5 separate regions of the Homo sapiens genome follow, and regions 2, 3, 4 and 5 are each linked to region 1. Evidence: promoter capture Hi-C in 16 types of primary human blood cells and fetal thymus (Javierre and others, 2016). All regions are on one chromosome and are shown on one strand. Each heading gives the region's core, a stretch centred on a gene start or on the middle of the fragment in contact. The rest is flanking DNA. Distances are from core to core; before and after follow the strand shown.

Evidence for each region. Contacts are between HindIII fragments. The CHiCAGO score rates a contact against its expected background, and 5 or more counts as called.
Region 2: a contact is called between the fragment with the promoter of HEBP1 here and the fragment with the promoter of MANSC1 in region 1, in 1 of 17 cell types (naive CD4 T cells). The highest score is 5.4, in naive CD4 T cells.
Region 3: a contact is called between a fragment that was not itself captured here and the fragment with the promoter of MANSC1 in region 1, in 2 of 17 cell types (M1 macrophages and non-activated CD4 T cells). The highest score is 6.2, in M1 macrophages.
Region 4: a contact is called between a fragment that was not itself captured here and the fragment with the promoter of MANSC1 in region 1, in 1 of 17 cell types (naive B cells). The highest score is 6.1, in naive B cells.
Region 5: a fragment that was not itself captured here is called in contact with the fragment with the promoter of MANSC1 in region 1 in 1 of 17 cell types (neutrophils); the score reaches 5.7 in neutrophils.

Annotation. Positions count from the first base shown.
Region 1 is chr12:12,348,960-12,351,561 of GRCh38, reverse strand. It overlaps MANSC1 (MANSC domain containing 1), which reads left to right and starts at 1,320. Exons shown (of 4, transcript NM_018050.4): 1 at 1,320-1,484. RefSeq lists a silencer at 1,010-1,319. The HindIII fragment of the contact is 5,175 bases long and covers 1-2,214 here.
Region 2 is chr12:12,998,947-13,001,548 of GRCh38, reverse strand. HEBP1 (heme binding protein 1) reads left to right here and starts at 1,284. Exons shown (of 4, transcript NM_015987.5): 1 at 1,284-1,512. The coding sequence starts at 1,435. The region is part of intron 2 of GPRC5D-AS1 (GPRC5D and HEBP1 antisense RNA 1); the gene reads right to left. It also overlaps the pseudogene HTR7P1. RefSeq lists silencers at 190-339, 1,100-1,219, 1,270-1,419. The HindIII fragment of the contact is 1,773 bases long and covers 427-2,199 here.
Region 3 is chr12:11,721,849-11,724,450 of GRCh38, reverse strand. The region is part of intron 1 of ETV6 (ETS variant transcription factor 6); the gene reads right to left. LOC124902879 (a long non-coding RNA gene) reads right to left here. Exons shown (of 2, transcript XR_007063212.1): 2 at 2,018-2,602. Among named protein-coding and RNA genes, the nearest start is that of ETV6, 73 kb to the right of the region's middle. RefSeq lists an enhancer at 1-196. The HindIII fragment of the contact is 1,349 bases long and covers 645-1,993 here.
Region 4 is chr12:11,746,906-11,749,507 of GRCh38, reverse strand. The region is part of intron 1 of ETV6 (ETS variant transcription factor 6); the gene reads right to left. Among named protein-coding and RNA genes, the nearest start is that of ETV6, 99 kb to the right of the region's middle. The HindIII fragment of the contact is 742 bases long and covers 939-1,680 here.
Region 5 is chr12:11,772,318-11,774,919 of GRCh38, reverse strand. The region is part of intron 2 of ETV6 (ETS variant transcription factor 6); the gene reads right to left. Among named protein-coding and RNA genes, the nearest start is that of ETV6, 120 kb to the right of the region's middle. The HindIII fragment of the contact is 2,933 bases long and covers 1-2,602 here.

The DNA.
Region 1 (2,602 bases), core at 71-2,570:
GAATACGAAGTTTCTAATAATGGAAAGGTCTACTTTGTAACTAGCATGGATTACCCCATGTAGAGAGATTCAAAAACTGTGATAGCTCTACACCCTGAACCCTGAAGTGTATCAGATGATAAAAGATAAAACACACTTGCAGATCAGTCCCTTGTTGCATCAGGAAAATCACTGCAATGGGAAATTACTCTGGTGTTTACTTTTCTTTGGTAACTCTTTCAAACCTAGCTTTAGCAACATTGTAATTCAAGAGTCATCCTTTGGTTACAAGTAGAGTTAGTTTCACACAATGGACCTTTGTTCACAAGCATTCTCAGTCAACCTAATCCTCCTGTAGTTATTGGTTAAGACTAGGGTGTGTAGCTGTTGGCCGTACAGGCCTAGACTTAACTTGCAATTGCATAGCGCTTCAGGTCTGCAAGCTCTTTCAAAACAGAGGTGAAGATACTGTCAAAGGTTAGACCATATGGCAAACTAAGTGTCAATGGTTTAGTAACGTTGCATTTGTGTGTGTGTTTATGGAGGTGGGGATGGGGCCAGCAGTAATTTAGAAACTTCCACAACCTATGCCCTATGCAGTTCTTTTCCATTCATTCAGTCAACAAAAATATTTTAGTTAAATATTTACTGAGCACCTATTGTGTACCAGGCACTATGCTAAGTGTTAGGGATACAGTTTTAATATATGTTACAGACACCAGCATTTTCACCATTATTATCCTATCTACAAACAATAAATCCCGCAGAAAGCCAAATACCTTCCCTGAAGTTTGTCTTGCAGATAATATTTAACTCAAGAATTGCCATCTTTAATTGAGGACTCCATCCTCCAATTATGGAAAGAGGATTCTCAGAACTATGCCCCCAATAGGATGCACTATAAGCCCTTGAACATCAAAAAACTGCTCTCAGTGGTTGCCTCTGAGGAGGGAGACTAGGAGACTGGGGCACGGGGGTGAGGGGTAGACTTGTCTCTGTGTCTATTTTTGTACTGTTTGACATTTTCCCCATGTGCATTTATTTTAACTTGCGCGGGCCGCGAGGCAAGGCTCACCTGCAGACCCTCGGGCCACCAGCAGGGAGGCACGCACTCCCCCTCGCAGCGCGCCCAGCCCGGGGTCAGCGGTGTGGCTGAGCTGGGGGGGAGCGCGGGGCGGTGGGGGGAGCCACCTCCCTGCGGGGCTCAGCGCTGGGGCCGGGAGCCCGGAGCCTCCGCGGGGAGGGACGCGCTAATGTTGCCGGGAAGCAGCTCCGGGTTGCAGGGCAGGAACGTGCCCTTCCCCCGCGGCAAACTTGCCGTCGCTGCGACGGAAGCAGGAACTTGCTAACCACAAAACCCGCCAGGCCGGTGCGGGAGCTGCGGAGCATCCGCTGCGGTCCTCGCCGAGACCCCCGCGCGGATTCGCCGGTCCTTCCCGCGGGCGCGACAGAGCTGTCCTCGCACCTGGATGGCAGCAGGGGCGCCGGGGTCCTCTCGACGCCAGGTAAAGGGGTCTCCCCAATACCCACCCCCGACCGGCCGCAGGCGACGTCGCTACCTGCGGAGAGAGTCGGTCCCCTCCTTTCCAGGGGCCGAGGCTCCTTCACCCACACCCGAGCATCCAAAGGACCAGCTGGGGCCAATAAGGGCTGACCAGGATCCTTGAGTCGCTGCAGTATTCCAAAGGGGACCTCTAGGCGGGCTCAAGGCACCTGCCATAAATGGCTCTGGCTCTGCGTTGACATCAGAAGGAGAGGCAGAAGAATAGCTCAGTAGGCAACATGCATTTCCTCAAAGGAAGAGAAAATGTTCCCTGTTTTCTTGTCGTTGACTCTGTATTCATTATTGAAACTGCTAATTGTCTAATTCTCTGTAGAGTGTGTGTGTGTATACAGTTATAAGCATCTTGGTAAATTATAGTGTGCTGTAAGACGATTTCCAATATTTGAACTAATTACGTGCGAGTAAGTTTTAGCGACTCTTGTATGCAGACGTTAAAACTCAGGGGCATCCTCTCTCACCCGCCTGTATCCTTTTACCCCGTCTTTCAACAAGATTCAACTCGACTTCAGGCCCTTAAAGCCTAAATAATAATGGATTAGAAAACGTCGCTAACCTAATATTGCTGAGCCTCTTTAATGATATAAAACTCTTAAACACTTCTCTCAATGCTGCATACTGAAAACAACTCCTGCCCCATCTCCTTACATAGTTCAGGTTTCTTTGCAAAAGCTTGAAAAGAGGCTACATTAGAATCCATTCAAAATAAAGTATTGGCCTGGTTTTCTCTTGATTCCCTAGAGGCTTGCAAAATATGGCAGCGTATTAAGTACCTTGGCCAGAATTATTAACCTGGGGAGTCCACGATAAGGTATCCATGGATAGAATTCAGGATGTCTGTGAACTTGAGTGGAAAAAATTATTATTTCACCGACTTCTGAAATGGAATGTAGGCAAAAGCCACAGTAGTATTAGCAGTAGCTATGATTTGCCCCCTGTAAATATTGCCGATATCTTTATATCACATGACTTGTTGCACGTTTCAAAATATTATCTATACTCAATACCACGTCAAAATTATGGCAGTTATTAGATGACCACTTGTTACTTAATAGGTTAATA
Region 2 (2,602 bases), core at 35-2,534, 650 kb before region 1:
CAGAGGCGCCCGTAGAGGTCCGGGTGGCCGCTGCTGTTAACATCCATCACTGCGCCGCCGTGTGGCGCTGCCCAAGAAGCCGCCCCACCCCCCTCCCCACCCCCGCGGCCGCCACAGGCTCCGGCTTTCGGCCCCGGGGCTTCAACTCGCCGGTTCCCCTCCGCCCGGCCCAGCTTGAGGCCTGCACCGGCCGCTGGGCAGCGCCAGGCTCGGCCTCGGGGCCCCGCCTGTCCCAGATCCCCGGCCGCTGCGTGAAACGCGAGAGCGCTGCCGAGCGGGGACTCCCTGAGGGAGGGACCTCGGACCCCGACGGACGCCCGGGACGCGCGGGCTCTCGGGCGCTCCGGCGGGGCTCGGCCCGCGGCTCCACAGCCCGCTGCACCCGCGCGGCTCGGAGCAATGGAGGATCAGGCAGCGGCAGAAGCTTCCGTTTCCTCCTTTTTAAATGGCTCCAAAATATTTCTTGTCGGTGGTGTGGAGTAGAGATTTATTGGTAAAATACTTGACAGAAAGCAGGCACTCAGCTGAGTAAATGGTGACAAAATTGGTGAGAAGATTTTTGAACAGGAGTGAACGAGAAAAGCCATGCTTAGAAAAGTCACCTGGAAACTGTGATTTAGAGGGATGGTAGGAAAGAGTGGCAGCAGGAAAGTGGTTTGGATGCTCTTTCAATGGTCTAGAAGAGGTCATGGGGCGGGGGTAGAGGGACAGCTACCAAGACAGGGAGCCTGGCCGCCGCTGTACCAGCGGGATCGAGCCTTCGGGTAGAGGACCGGAGAAGCGTGAGCAACCCGGGGCTCGGAGGTTGGAGCCCAGGCACCTGAGAGAGGACGTTCCCCACCACCGCTGCCTAAAGCCACTCCAGGCGAGAATCGCTTTCCAGGGCCCCAGCGGATAGGTTAGACTCAGAATAAGAGAAGGGGTCTGCGGAGGGGGACGGCCTGAGGCCCGCGGCCGGGTTCCCTCCCCAGACACCCGCGGAAAGCCCGAAAGGAGGCGGAACACGGCCCAGCGGCTCGCCACGGCGGGCCCATCCCTTGCTTAGCCGCCTCGCACCCTCGCCTCACCGCACTGCTGCACTGCTGCACTGCTGCCCTGCTGCCCGCCCTTCGCATCACTGACCCGCCCTCTCTCCGCCCCCTCGCCTCGCCGCCCCGCCCTCTCTCTCCGCCCCTTCACCTCGCCGTCCCGCCCCCTTGCCTCACCGCCGGGCTGAATTGCCGCCCCGCCCTCTAGCCACGCCCTCTGGCCCCTGCCTCTAGCCCCGCCTCTCGCCTCGCCGCCTCGCCGTCCCGCCGCCTTGCCGCCCTGCCACCCTGCCGCCCTGCCGCCCTGCCGCCCTGCCGCCCTGCCGCCGGTGGTCGCTGCCCGTGGTGCTCCGTCGCCCCCGCCACCTCACGTCCTCCCGTGCGTCGGGAGCGTCTCGGCTACAACATGTTGGGCATGATCAAGAACTCGCTGTTCGGAAGCGTAGAGACGTGGCCTTGGCAGGTCCTAAGCAAAGGGGACAAGGTAGGCCCGCAGGGCTGCCGAGGACCTGAAGGATTGCTGCCTCCCACCCCCACCCTCGTCGGGGCTGCAGCGGGTGCTGAGGGGCAGGTGGGGCAGGAATGTGCTATCGAAGGTGCGTTCTGGTGTCTGTCGCGAGTGCGGCTCTCCACCGCCCAGCATTTGGACTGGGAAGGAAAGGAGTGAGAGGTCCCCCTGCAGCCGGTGGTGAGAGGAGGGGGGTAAACAGGAGAGACTGATCCAAGGAGAGAATCCCAACTTGGGGAGTTGGGCACTGCCTGTTGAATGCATTCTTTCGTTTAAAATATTCCAAACATTCCGAACAGTTTGATTTGTTGAGAGACACTCGGTTGCAGAAATGAGTGTCGCAAGAAACTCCCAAGTACTAGAGAACTGCGGATAGTAGCCCCCTTTATCCGCGATTTCAGTTACCTGTGGTCAGCTCTTGTCCATAACTATTAAATGGAAAATTCCAGAAATACAGAAGTCCTAAGTTTTAAGTTTCCGGCCATTCTGCGTAGCAGGATGAAATCTTGATTCCTGGGACCGGAATGCCCCTTTGTCCAAGGTCAGCCTCCTATCTCTAGTAGCCGCCCTTAGTCACTTAGTAGCTAGCTTGGTGATCGGATCGACCGTGGCGGTATTGAAGTAACCCTTATTTTACTTAGTAATGGCCCCAAAGTGCAAGCTTAGCAATGCTGGCATATTGTTATAATTGCTGTTATTTTATTATTGTTGTTCATCTCTTACTGTGCCTAATTGATAAAGTTAAACTATATCATAGGTATGTATGTATAGGAAAAAACGTAGTAGATACAGGGTTCAGTTTTGTCCACCGTTTCAGGTATCCACTGGGGGGCTTGGAAGGTATCTACTATAGATAAGGGGGACTACTGTGTAAAAGAACAAGATCTGTGCAGAATAGATATAAATGCGCTACGCAGGGAGCACAGAGGCAGTCAATTCTGCCAGGGGGCTATGATGGGGACCTCAGTGGAGTGTCCTGAGCTGGGGCCTCAGGGATGTGTAGGAGTGCACACAACAGAGAAGAGCATGCACAAAGGCCCAGAGCTGTACCATTGCTTTTGGCCAG
Region 3 (2,602 bases), core at 70-2,569, 630 kb after region 1:
CTTGAAAATCACACCGCATACAGATTCTCCCCTAAGTATAAAGTCTCCTGGTACTGATGGGCACAGGCCCACTCCACGTGATCGGCTCAAAATACTAAGGATCCACGAACAGGCCTTGCAGCTTTCTCCCAAACCATACTCCTTTCTCTGGGAGCTGCCTGCCAAGAAGGCTGCGCATGGAAACCTTAAACCTTGCTGTAAGCCCTGGCCACATCAATGGTGCAAAAGTAGCCCCTATCAGGACCTGTCAAGGGGAAACCTGAGCTGCAAGAGTAACTGGAGACTCAGGCAGCTGACCTGCTTACGATCCCTTAGTTGAGAGTTTAAACCAACTGTAACTGGGCAGTACTTGACAACCAGCTTCCCTAATGAGACCAAGAGTTAGGAGAGCTGACACACAGCACCCTCAGGTCAGGGGTGGGGGAGGGAGTATGCCACCACTGCACGGGTCAGAGAACATAGGGTGACTTTAAAGGCCCTGTTCTTCCTCTGGGCACCCCCGAGAGTGTAGGTCCGGCCCTCCCAGACCAGGACTCCTATGCTCTTCCTGGGGACTCTCAATGACACCTGGCCTTGTCCCAAGGAATACTCGTTTTAAAGATTTTTGATGGGTGGTCCAGGTAGAAGCTAGTGAAATAAAAGCTTTCTCAATGGTTGGTGATGCCACCTTGTCTTGACATGTGGGCCCCTGCAGTTGGGGAAAAGAAAGAGCAGAGGCCAAATTTACCAATGTGTTGGTCAAGGAGAGGCCAGGATAGGACAAAGGAAGAGAAGGGAACCCTGATAGATAAACCCTGTTTGATTTTTAAGGATAACGAGATTCAAGTAATTAATGTTCACCAAACTCCTACTATGTGCCGGGTACCACGCTGGAATAAAAGGCAAAGAACAGGTGAACAGTCCTGAAAAAACTCACAAAGGTCATACTTTATAACTAAGGTACATTTTCTTTTTCATTTAGAATGGATTAATTTTGTCACAATATGGCTTTTGAAGAGCAAGAAAGAATGGAAGGGAAAAAGGAATAACTGAAAGTGGAAGAAAGAAGGCAAGCAGGACATGGGAAAGGAGGGAGAGTGCGTTGTGGGTATTAAATGTGATAATCCTTGCAAAGTACTGAGTCAATCTCTGGCCTATAGTAAGTGCTCAAAAAATATCAGTCACTATATTCATTGTTACAGAGAGCCTATAACCGTGTCATACTAACCTACAATGCACACTTGCCATAGAGCAGGGAATGTTCTAAGGGCTTATCACATATTAATTCATTTAATACTCACAATCCTATGAGATATTAGGATTCCCATTTTACAAATGAGAAAACGAGGGTACAAAGAGATTCTGTAAACTATCAACTACCCAGTCACACAACTACCAAGTGAGAGATCTGAGATTCAAGCCCAGGTAGTCTGACTTCGGAGCTCAGCTTCTCATTGGTTTCACCTGTGGTTATTAAAGTGCGGTCCCTGGAACCGGGAACTTCTCAGATTTGCAAATTCTTTGTCCCACCCCAGTCCTACCAAATCAGAAACTCTGAGAGAACGGCCCAGCAACTGTTTCTAAAAGCCCCTGAGGTGATTCTGAGGAACACCAGAATTTGAGCACCTCTGCATTAATTACATTACAGTGCTTCTCCACGTAGTGGCTAAGTTAAGGCAGATAAGAAAACATCACTTCCTCCCCGGATCTGGCCTCACCTGGCAATGGGCAAAGGTCAAAATATTTGGGTTGTCCATTTCTCTCAGTTTAGGGCCTGGCCTACAACTGGGGTTTGGGAGAGTAACTTCAATTCTCTTCATTTTAGGAGAAATCAGTTTGGCTTTTCTGACTTTACTCTTTGACGTAGAAAGCCTAGGAGAGAACAACAGGCCTTGAATATTCTTAGAATAGTTTAACTCCTTCATAACGTCTGAACATCAGTTAGCAGATTTAATAGGCTGCAGTGCCCCAAAATGTCCACCATTAGATTAAAAATGAAACTTAAAAGAAAGCTTTGCTTCCAGTGTGTTAATTTAGCTTCCAACAATGCCTAGCAGGTGAATGTATCTCTACATTTTACTGGAGTTAACTCAATTATTCAAAGCGATTACAGTTTGTGGATTATCTGAGCCTCCTTCTTCTCCTCCCTGGAGCTGCTCACCTTTTGGCCATTTCACTGTTCATTAGCACCTCTACTGAAGATACCCAGGGGAGAATAAAAGGTGAGGAAACTCAAACCAGTCGACTTTTCTCCTTGTTAGCAGTTCTGATAAAGACTTGGTGGGAGAAGAATTATTATTGGCTAAAACAAGACACTGGGATTATCTATGGCTTCAATTTTCCATGCTCTCCCAGCCCCTAATTATCAGATACAGTCAAGTCAGCCTAACTTTATAGTGACAGCCCAGTCTACAAGTGAGCAGGGGCATAATATTCAAATTCTAGAATTTCCACAGAGGTAACCTATGATACCTTCTTCCTTAAATTACAGCTCTCAAAAATGCCAGGGTGATGGACAACTTTGATCACAGGTGAAAAGGCTCAAAAAGAGATCCCACAGCATTTTAACAGCTGACTTTTCCCACCATTCAAACTTTCTATGACCTAACAGAATATGTACATC
Region 4 (2,602 bases), core at 60-2,559, 600 kb after region 1:
TCCCAAATAAAGGGAACCTCTTTACTCTCACAACTGCTTCTCTGGTGCGACCCCAACAAAGGAGGGGGTGGTGGTGAGAGTCCCACCTCTAAAGCAAATTGTCAGACAGATGAAAACCAGAGCTGCTTTCTTTCTTTTAACATTATGGGGAGTAGGGGTGTGTGTGTGTGTGTGTGTGTGTGTGTGTGTGTGTGTGTGTGTGTGTGTGTGTGTGTGTGTATGGGGGGGATAACGATTTTCCCAAGAGGATTATAACCGCTGCTCTAATTAAATTAAAATGCTACAGACAGTGATATTAATGTATTCAAGTGTTGTAGGGGGATAAACTGCTGGTGGAGGTCAATGATGTGACTCAGAATGCCGTGATGTGGTTACATTATTGTTTAGATGCTGTAAAAAATAAAACACGCTGCTCTCAAATTTGCAGATACAACCTATCAAGCCAACCAGCTGAACAAAAGGGAAGCACTGCAATTTCTGAGGCCAATTGTAATACCTATGAGCAGGTTGTCAAGGAGGCGGCACAAAGCGCTGGGAAGAGAAAATAAGGCAGAAAACTGTTGTAGGCAAGAGTTGAAATGTAAATTTCACCAACCATTATAGAAAGCTTTAAAAAAAATAATGAAGTATGGAGTAGGGTTGTCTCTTGAAAGCGTAAGGACTGAAGCCAAAATGAGCTGCGTTCCCTCTCCCATTTCTCCCCTAGCCATGAAGGGCCAATGAAGGGTACCCATCTAATTCTGCTCATTTTTAAACTGAATGCTTAGGAGCCCGTGACTTCCCTGTAAAATAGGTGTATACAGTCTGTGCTCAGTAGGAGAATGGCATTTCTCCACGTTCCCCCACACCCACCCTCAGGTTGCATATTACAGAAGAGTCAAAAAATGAATATTATTACCAAAAGGTCTTTCCTCTTCAAAATTATTCAATATAAAGCTTCCATAAATCACGGGGATCCCCTAGCACATTTACACATTTATTATTATACCCTCTGAAAAGGCTGAGGGGTTGGGAAACTTAGAGCCTACTGCTAACTAAATATTAACATTCTGGAAATAAAGCATTTTTGGAATTAATTAAAACAGAAATAAAGTTGGTTGTGCTTGCAAAAAGATGGTTTGCAGGTAATTTCAAAGATTTCTCTGCTGCAGAACTGAGATGTCCTTGATATAGAAACTTTTCCTGGAAATTGTCCCTATCCCCATTATAAATGCCAGGACTGCCCCCAGTGATGGCTTCTGAAGCCTAGTTTGAAAGTCCTGAGGAGGAAGAGTGTCATGGACACAGGATAGTGGTCATTTCCCCACAGCTAGGGTAAAAATGCCACAGGCATGCTTTCATCCCATTGCACTTCGGTGTCCCATCACTGTGAAGAAACCTGCAACCCAGATAAGATGGAAAACAGCAGGCACCAGTGACAAGAGTGGTCATGCCAGCAATATTCAGTATTTTGAGAGAAGGATCTCTTTTCCACCCTGCAGGTGTTTAGAAAAGCTGCCTGAGAAAGCTGATGCTTGTACCGTCGTCAACTTCTACAGATTCAACAGAAGAAACCTCTCCTATGGGAAGCTATTTATTGAAATTTATTAAAGTGAAGTCTGAATACACAAGTATTTAAGTACACTCTTCTGGCTGCAAAAATTTCAAGTGGTGGTGATGTTGGCTTTCATTAAGTAAGCTTTTATTAACAAGCTATAGACACATTAACAAAAAATTGAATACGCTGAAATTTGAGCTCTAGAGTTTTCTAGGTTTCTGCCACCAGGAAAGCACAGATATACACAAGAACCTAAAGTAATACACTCTTGAAAGTCGACATTTTTTTCACTTGAAAAAAGCTATTGAATATTTTGTCCACTCCAAAATTCAGTGAGACAAACGTAAAGAATTTGAGAGAAGATGCAAATGCCAGTCTTCTTTTCTAAATAGACATTGTACACACAGCCACAGAGAGTAACATTTTTGGAATCTCCCCAGAAAGAAAGAGCATACCCTAGCATCTCGGCTAGAAAGAACACCACAGAGACTCAAATGCAAATTTTGATGTAGCAAAATCCACATCCACCAAATCACAGAAGTGAAGTTCATGATTTCTTTTCATCCAGAGAGTTACCAGAAGATGGTTTAGACATCCAAGATGGTATAGGGGCCCAAGCTGGCTTTCTTCTTGGTGTCCAGTGTCCCCCCTGCCCTGAAAGCAACATCCCTCTGGATGCTAAGCCATTAATTTTTACAAGCCAAATGGTGTTTGGGTCTCAACATTCATCTTGCAGAATACATATCAGTACTTCCAAGGGGAAAAAAATGAGTGTACCCTGTGAAAATGAGGATGGGTAGGAACTATACTCCTAGCATCTGAAGTCTCCTCTCTAGGTTACCCAGATGGCCCACTCAGCCCTTGGGGAGAGGGTACGCCAGACAAACCAAACTCAATGTTGCTGTGGGGATCTTCCAAGGAGCCCGCTTCACCAGTCTTAAGGAGTGCCCTTTCTCTAGTTTATGTAGATGGTTCAGGACGTGAGATATTCGGATTCCTGTTTAGAACTGAAATTGTCCCTTTCTTCTGCCTTTCTGGATGGTTACATCCTAAAATCAGAAGGCA
Region 5 (2,602 bases), core at 44-2,543, 580 kb after region 1:
CTGCCTGACCCCGGGGCTACGGTCCCTCTGCTGCATAAACTCAGAATTCCTGGGGGACATCTAAAGCAGTACCCTCTGTCATTCAGAGACCAGCTAACAAGTTGCTGGTTGTTCATTTTCTCCAAGTTCCTTCAAGGAGCAGTTTTGATGTGGTCCTCAGTACCGTGGCTGGCGTGCAGGCATGTATTTTACCAGCTTGATTGTGCTAGAAAAGGTGGTTAGCTGAAACAGGTTTACAGGTAACATACTTCAGACAGACTATGAGTTTTATATAATCTTTTGTGAGCCAAATGAAAACCTGGGCACCATTTATTTACATTTGTTTATTCCTCTTGGGAGGAGGGAAAGGTGCTTCGGGAGCCAACAAAGTTCTGGAACACAGACACTAAGGTATAGCTCATGCTTGTTATATCACATCCCTACAGGACCTAGGACAGGCAGGTGTGCAGGGCACTTTAACTGATGACATGAAGGCAGAGTCCATAGTCTCTTCACCTACATCCAGCCTTTGACTTTCTGAATTCTTCTCTCTGCACAAGCCCCAGTATTCTAACTGCAGACTCTCTTGCGTGGTTAACACACAGGATCTCTGTGCAGTTCCCTAGGTGGTGGGGCTGTTGTCAGGCCAAAATGAAATCCAGGCAGTTTGTTGACCAGGAAGAACATTGCTCAACCGTGGACCTGAAACTGCTCAGAACCTTCTCAACTCGCCCTCCTTTCTCATTTAACTCTCCTCCTTTCCTTAAAAGCAAAAACAAGATGAACAAATAAGCACCTCTCCTTTTCCTCCCCTTTCTGAGATCTGCCAACTTCCTCTTCCATGGGCCTTGTGGTTGGGTCTTGCTCCCAACGGTCTCTCAAACCCTCAGCCGGCTGAGCTCCAGGTCCGCCCTCAGTTGTGTGATGGCAACAGCCAGTCTCTGCCCGCTTCACTCTCTCTCTCTTCTCTGTGGCAGCACCCAGGAGACGGAGGAGGGCAGATGCCAGCCAGCGCAGCAGCAGGCAGCACTGCATTTCCCCAATGTTCAGGTCCACCACATCGGGTGATGCCTCCACAATGGCATTTGCAACGCAGCCCTGTGGAAGGGAGTTCCAGGAGAACCTCAGCTTCAGAGGACCGCCTTCCCAGACTTGGGGTAGACAGTCTAGGGTCTGTTTATGTTTTCCAAGATACCAAGTATAGTCCTCTTACAAATATGTGCACTGTTTTCCTCAACTGCCTTCATTTTCCTACCAGAACCCTGCTTATTTCTGAAAGTCTTTCCAGCCAGGCCATGAGAAAAGTGCTTCAAACACCTTGGACTGAGCCATGGATAAAGTCTCCTTCAAAGGGGTTCACAGCTATCATGGATCTCTTCCTTATAAGCAGAATAAACAATTTAAACTAGCGGATTACAATAAAATAATGTGTATTTATATTTGAACCAGACAGTGCCAATGTTCTGAAACTGGAATTTCACAATAAGGAAACCATGTTCTCAAATTCAACCTCTCCATCTTGTTCATTCCGACATCATGTCAAGAGCTTTTGCATTTTCCATTCAGTCTCACTGTAGTTGAGACTTGAGCAGAAAGATTTTTAATTAAAAAAAAATTTATATATATATATATGGCTCTTTGAGCTCTTGCTGAATTAAAAAAAATTCTTTATACCAACAAAGTAAACTTAAGACAAAAAGGTGACAAGGCAATAAGATCAAGATTTCATTTTTTTTTTTTTTTTTTTTGAGATGGAGTCTCACTCTGTCACTAAGCTGGAATGTAGTGGTGCAATCTCGGCTCACGGCAAGCTCTGCCTCCCGGGTTCACGCCATTCTCCTGCCTCAGCCTCCCGAGTAGCTGGGACTACAGGTGTCCGCCACCACACCCAGCTAATTTTTTGTATTTTTAGTAGAGACGGGCTTTCACCATGTTAGCCAGGATGGTCTGGATCTCCTGACCTTGTGACCCACCTGCCTCGGCCTCCCAAAGTGCTGGGATTACAGGCATGAGCCACTGCACCTGGCCAAGATTTTTCATACTTCAATCCTGATCTTGGACCTTCCCGAGACCAATCTTAGAAACAGCTTTATGGTATGAGCAATCTAAAGATCTTCCAACATCATGATTCTAAAATAAAAATTTTAGGCTTTTGTTGATTGAAGGTAGACCAGAGAGAATCACAAGGAAAGTTTAAATGGAGCATTACCATTCTTAGTTGTTCTTTTAATCATGCAGAATGGTGAACAGACGCTCTGACTTGGTGGTGGAAGAGAACTGCTAGTTTGTTTTAGTCAATATCAAGTCCATAGCTGACTTTTAGAGGAAATATGCAATCAATTACTTCCTTGACTCAGTGTAGTTTAACTCCCCTATACCCCAAAGATTAAACTCCTTAGAAATTTTGGGTGGGGAAACTGGTTTCCTTCAAATGTACACAACAGAAACCATCACCCCATCAATCAAACAAAGAATCTCATTTCAGAGTCTATCCAAGGCCAGGCATGGGCACAGACCTGATCACTGAAAACCATCTTTACTATTCGGACACCTTTGACTGTTGAGTCATAAGGTTTCCCAGGGAAGAGGTTCATGAAATTACCGAACTATATCACTGTTCTTC